Regions from separate parts of the Homo sapiens genome. Here region 1 is linked to region 2. Evidence: promoter capture Hi-C in human tissues and cell types (Jung and others, 2019). All regions are on one chromosome and are shown on one strand. The core of a region is centred on a gene start or on the middle of the fragment in contact, and the rest is flanking DNA. Distances in the headings are between cores, read along the strand shown. Region 1 has its middle 17 kb from the start of ISLR2. Region 2 holds the start of ISLR (immunoglobulin superfamily containing leucine rich repeat).

What was found. The method cuts DNA at HindIII sites, captures the fragments that hold promoters and counts their contacts. A contact is called where the count stands out against the background at its distance.
Region 1: a contact is called between a fragment that was not itself captured here and the fragment with the promoter of ISLR in region 2, in 1 of the 25 tissues and cell types used here (liver).

The regions. Positions count from the first base shown.
Region 1 is chr15:74,112,420-74,115,119 of GRCh38, forward strand. It overlaps a transcript of ISLR2 not described here. Among named protein-coding and RNA genes, the nearest start is that of ISLR2, 17 kb to the right of the region's middle. The HindIII fragment of the contact is 8,895 bases long and covers 1-2,700 here.
Region 2 is chr15:74,172,377-74,175,076 of GRCh38, forward strand. It overlaps ISLR (immunoglobulin superfamily containing leucine rich repeat), which reads left to right and starts at 1,334. Exons shown (of 2, transcript NM_005545.4): 1 at 1,334-1,643; 2 at 2,475-2,700. The coding sequence starts at 2,483. RefSeq lists enhancers at 79-1,067, 1,068-2,055, 2,056-2,700. The HindIII fragment of the contact is 13,967 bases long and covers 671-2,700 here.

The DNA of each region.
Region 1 (2,700 bases), core at 17-2,516, 60 kb before region 2:
AACCATCTTCACCAAGGGTTGATATTTCTCTAAATTCTTTAACGTATGTATGTAGTTACTTTAAAGCTCTTGCCTGCTAATTCCAATGTGTGAGCCATTTATGGGTCTGCTTTTTTTTTTTTTTGGAAATGGATTTTTGCTCTTGTATCCCAGGCTGGCATGCAATGGTGCCATCTCAGCTCGCTGCAACCTCCACCTCCCAGGTTCAAGCAATTCTCCTACCTCAGCCTCCCGAGCAGATGGAACTATAGGCGCATGTTACCACGCCCAGCTAATTTTTGTATTTTTAGTAGAGATGGGGTTTCACCATGTTGGCCAGGCTGGTCTTGAATTCCTGACCTCAGGTGATCCACCCACCTCAGCCTCCTAAAGTGCTCAGATTACAGGTGTGAGTCACTGTGCCCGGCCCTTTTTTTTTTTTTTTTTGAGACAAGATCTCACTCTGTTGTCCAGGCTGGATTGCAGTGGCATGATCTCAGCTCACTGCAACCTGCACCTCCCAGGCCCAAGCCATCCTTCCACCTCAGCCTTCCAAGTAGCTGGGACCACAGGCACATGCCACCAGCAGTCCTGACTGGTTTCACGGAAGACAATTTTTCTACAGACGGGGTCAGGGGTGGTGGTTATGGTATGAAACTGTTCCACTTCAGATCATCAGGCATTAGATTCTCATAAAGAGTGTGAAACCTAGATTCCTCACATGTGCAGTTCACATTAGGGTTCACGCTTCTATGAGAATCTAATGCCTGCTGATCTGATGGGGGGCGGAGCTCAGGCAGTAATGCTCGCTGTCCACCACTCACTTCCTGCTGCGCAGCCTGGTTCCTACCAGGTCACCGACGGGTACAGTCCACAGCCTGGGGGTTATGGGCCCCTGCACACCACCACACCCAACTCAGTTTTGAATTTTTAGTAGAGATGGGGTTATGCCATGTTGCCCAGGCTGGTCTCAAAGTCTTGAGCTCAAGTGATCTACCTGCCTTGGCCTCCCAAAGTGCTAGGATTACAGGCATGAGCCACCATGCACGGTGCATCTGTTTGTATTGACTGGTTTTCTCTTAATTTTAGGATATATTTTCTCGCTTTTTCACACATCTAGTATTTCTTGAGCTGTTGGACGTTGTGAACCTTCATTGTAGAGATGTGGGTTATGTTATCCTACTCTAGTGTTGAGTTTTATTTTGGCAGGGAATTAAATTGCTGTTGGGTTAACTTGATCTTGAGTGTCAAGGCTACATTTTAGGTTTTGTTAGGGTGAGCTGTTTTTCAGTTTTGCTCTTATTCCTAGAGAATCTTCCTTAATCCTAAGGCATGGCCTTCTAGGCCCTCTGTGAATGTCTGGGATATTCATCAAGACCTGAGATTCCAAGAGTGGAGACTCTGGCTGAGCCAGAATTCAGATGTGTTTCCAGCACTCTGTGACCACTGAAATCGCTGTTTAGCTCTCAGCTCCCCATCAGCTGTTCTGTGCTGGGCCTTGCAGAGTCTCAATCCACACATTCAGAGTTTGGGATTTGGCCAAGGACCTGCAGCAACCTCTATAAGATTTCTGGGGCTTCTCCTCTGCAACTCCATCCTTTCTGATACTCTGCCACACACATTTTAGCAGCCCTGAGCAGCAGTCTCTGTTTCCTCCACCAAACAAGACTGATCCTCATTGCCTGAACTCTGCTTCCTCATGCTGTCATTGAGGGTTTAGAAACTTTCCCCACCAGAAAAACACAGCAGTCACTTCATGTGATTCCCTTCTCTCAGATTGTACCTGGAACTGCCTATTGCCCAATGGCTGAAGACAATTTCTTCATGTACTTTGTCCAGCTTTGTAGTTGTTTATGCTGGGAGACCATCATCAATACAGGTACTCCATCATGGCCACAATTCGAAGTACGATTAATATCATATTCATTCTATTCTAAAAGTAGAGAAGACAAAGACCAACAGTTCTAAGAAAAATGGAAAAATATATATGAAAGTTCAAAGAAAAAGAAGCGCAAATGCCACTGACACACAGGAAAAAATGTTTAACTTCACTGATAATAAGAAAGATACAATTTTAGGCCGGGTGCAGTGGCTCACACCTGTAATCCCAGCACTTTGGGAGGCTGAGGTGGGAGGATCGCTTGAGGCCATGAAGTGGAGGTGGCAGTGAGCCGAGATGGCGCCACTTGGGGTGACAGAGCAAGATCCTGTCTCAAAAAAAAAAAAAAGATACAGATGTAAACAACATCCTGCAACCTCTACATGTGGCCATGATTGCTAACAGGGACCAGATTTGCCTCCCACCTTGAACAACTAGAAAAATGGAACAACATATATAAAACAATAGTTTTCAGACATCAGAGAACAGGTCGAGCAGAACTATGATCCCTAAAAGAAGGTGAACCCTACAGTGTCCTCAGTTTACTGCCGGAAGCACTTACAGGCTCCAATGCAGGGAGGGAAATCCAAAGTCCAGTGGTCTTGGTGGATTGAGGAGACAGAGATCAGAGCTTGGGAAGATCTTCAAGGCTGGTAGAATTTGTGAGGTAGAGTACCAGGGAGGAGGTGGGAGAAGAGAGCACATGAACTCTGGAGAGCTATGGAAGATGCCCTCAAGCCTTTGGCAAAGGGCTGATATGGATGTATGTGAGAAGAAAGTACCCAGGGAAAGAACTGCCAGAAAGCAGACAGAAGAATCCCCGGAGCTCACAACAGGCTAGA
Region 2 (2,700 bases), core at 84-2,583:
TTGGACCATAATAATATCCTCAGCATCAGACTCGGGTGTTTTGCAGGCAGCATGCTGGGGACTTCTGTGGCCTTGCTTGGTGACAGGGAATGGGGTGTGATGAGCTGGGGCAGGCTTCCTGGGGATGCTTTCAGCCAAAGATGAGCCCTGTCTGCCCTTGGCCCTGCTGAGAGGGTAAGTTGAGTCATGAGCAGAATTCAACCAGTTATCAGATGGAAGGCCAAGGAAGCTTGGGGAGGGCTACTGAGGGGATACGGTAGGCTTGTCTGTGGAGAGCAAAATTCTTCAGTCTACAAAGTTCTTTTCTGGGCTCCTTCATCTTTCGGTTTCTCTTCCAGCTCCCTCGTTTTGGGCCTCTTTTGTTTCCCCATTCCCCTCCCCTGGGCCTTCCCGTTTGGAAAAGGGGTCACATATCCTCACCCTGGAGGCGTCTGCCCCTTCCACACAGTTGGTGTTGGAACAGTGGAGCTCAGAGAGGCCGATGCTGACCGCGTAGATGTCCAGCACCAACAGTGGGATTTTGGGCCCTGTGGGGGACACAGAGAGAACTCTCCGGGAGTGCGGCCCCTTGGCCTCCCCTCTGGGTGCCCAGTGGGCAGTGGGCCTGGGTGGCTCAGAATCCCAGCCAGGAGCACTGAAGGTCAACAGGCTCCCGCCCTGAGTTTTCTGAGCCAGGCCTCCCTGTTTCCTCCCCAGCCAGTGGGGAGCGCAGTGAGGGGCGGGGCCTGGAGTCTTGGGAGCTCCCTGGACAACAACATGCATTTAGCGCAGCTCAGTCTCAGAGCCAGCAGGATATGTTTTCTTAAAAAAAAAAAAAATGCCTAACATCTTGGCTTTCACCGAAGGGTTGGTATCTGCTTTGTACACTTTGGCCTTCTTGGCTTTTCACTGAAACACACACACATGGATGCACACTCACTTCCACACACAAACCCACACCAAGACAGACACACACACACACTCACACACAAACTCATGTACATGGTTTCATACCCACATCCATGCAAACACACATACAAATCCAGAAATACGCACCCTCACACCCACAAACTTGTACACACACACACACGTATACACACCAACACACATACAACCCTGGCTTGGACAAAAGCTTCCCGTTTTTTCTTGTTTGAAGTGGAAATCTCCCACCTTCCATGAGATTCAATTTCTCGCCCTTCCCCCGCTAAAATCCTCCTGGCCCCATCATTTCTTGGGTCCTTTCCAGACAGTGCTGTGTCTTTAAGGAAGTTGAAGCTGCTAAAAGTGAGTGAGAGAGAGAGAAAAAACACAACCCAAAAAAATTTGGCATCTCTTCCCCCCTCAAGTTTCTGGTGTCACTTATGAAACACAGGTCCTTGTTGCTGCAGAGAAGCAGTTGTTTTGCTGGAAGGAGGGAGTGCGCGGGCTGCCCCGGGCTCCTCCCTGCCGCCTCCTCTCAGTGGATGGTTCCAGGCACCCTGTCTGGGGCAGGGAGGGCACAGGCCTGCACATCGAAGGTGGGGTGGGACCAGGCTGCCCCTCGCCCCAGCATCCAAGTCCTCCCTTGGGCGCCCGTGGCCCTGCAGACTCTCAGGGCTAAGGTCCTCTGTTGCTTTTTGGTTCCACCTTAGAAGAGGCTCCGCTTGACTAAGAGTAGCTTGAAGGTAAGCCAGTGGGGAGGAGGGCTCCAGGGCCAGCGGCGGGAGCGGGAGGCCTGTTGGACATAGGGGCTGGTTCCCTCTTGGTCCATCCCTGCTGGTCTGAGGTGCGTGGGACAATCCCTAGCTTGGAGCCGTCCAGGGGGCATCTGCTTCTTCCACAACCCACAACTGAGGCCCCAGAAATCCCAGCTGCGTTTGGGCTGAGCCTCTGGCCTCACCCAAGTCAGCTGAGAGGTCCTGGCGGGGGTTTATTTAGGCAGCTGCCTGGCTAAGTTTGAACAGAACAGGCCACGGGTGTGATTCCACAGAAAAGGCCTGGTGTCTGCTGCGGTCATGGCCGGAGGAGCGGGAGAGGGCGGGTGGAGTGGATGGGGGTGGTGTGCACTGCACAAGGGGCCTCGTCTGGGCCAAGGCAAAGCATACCTATGGGGGGCTCCGGTGGGAGGGACTGCGGCCAGGATGTGGGAGGGCAGGGGGAGGTTCTGCAAAGTGCTGGGGGAGGGGGGTGGCTGGAAAACAGATTTCAAGTCATAAAGTCAGCTAGGAACAGGCCGAGGCAGGGAGAACTCTCCACTCGGAGGAGGAGCTGGGGTCCTCTTCCATCCCGTCTTCATCCTGCCTGGCTGCGTGACCTCGGGCAAGTCTCCGCCCTTCTCTTGGCCTCAGTTTCTCCTTCCGTAGGATGGGGGCGGTGGGCTAGGTGGTGTTGGGATTTAGCTGGGTTATGTGGGACAGGGCCTCCTGATGGGAAAGAGCTCTGGCTGGGCTTGTGGGAGGAATGAGTCCCTTTGGCAGGTTCTCGGGATCCCCTGGGTGACATGCCTTTCTCTGCAGGAGGCACCATGCAGGAGCTGCATCTGCTCTGGTGGGCGCTTCTCCTGGGCCTGGCTCAGGCCTGCCCTGAGCCCTGCGACTGTGGGGAAAAGTATGGCTTCCAGATCGCCGACTGTGCCTACCGCGACCTAGAATCCGTGCCGCCTGGCTTCCCGGCCAATGTGACTACACTGAGCCTGTCAGCCAACCGGCTGCCAGGCTTGCCGGAGGGTGCCTTCAGGGAGGT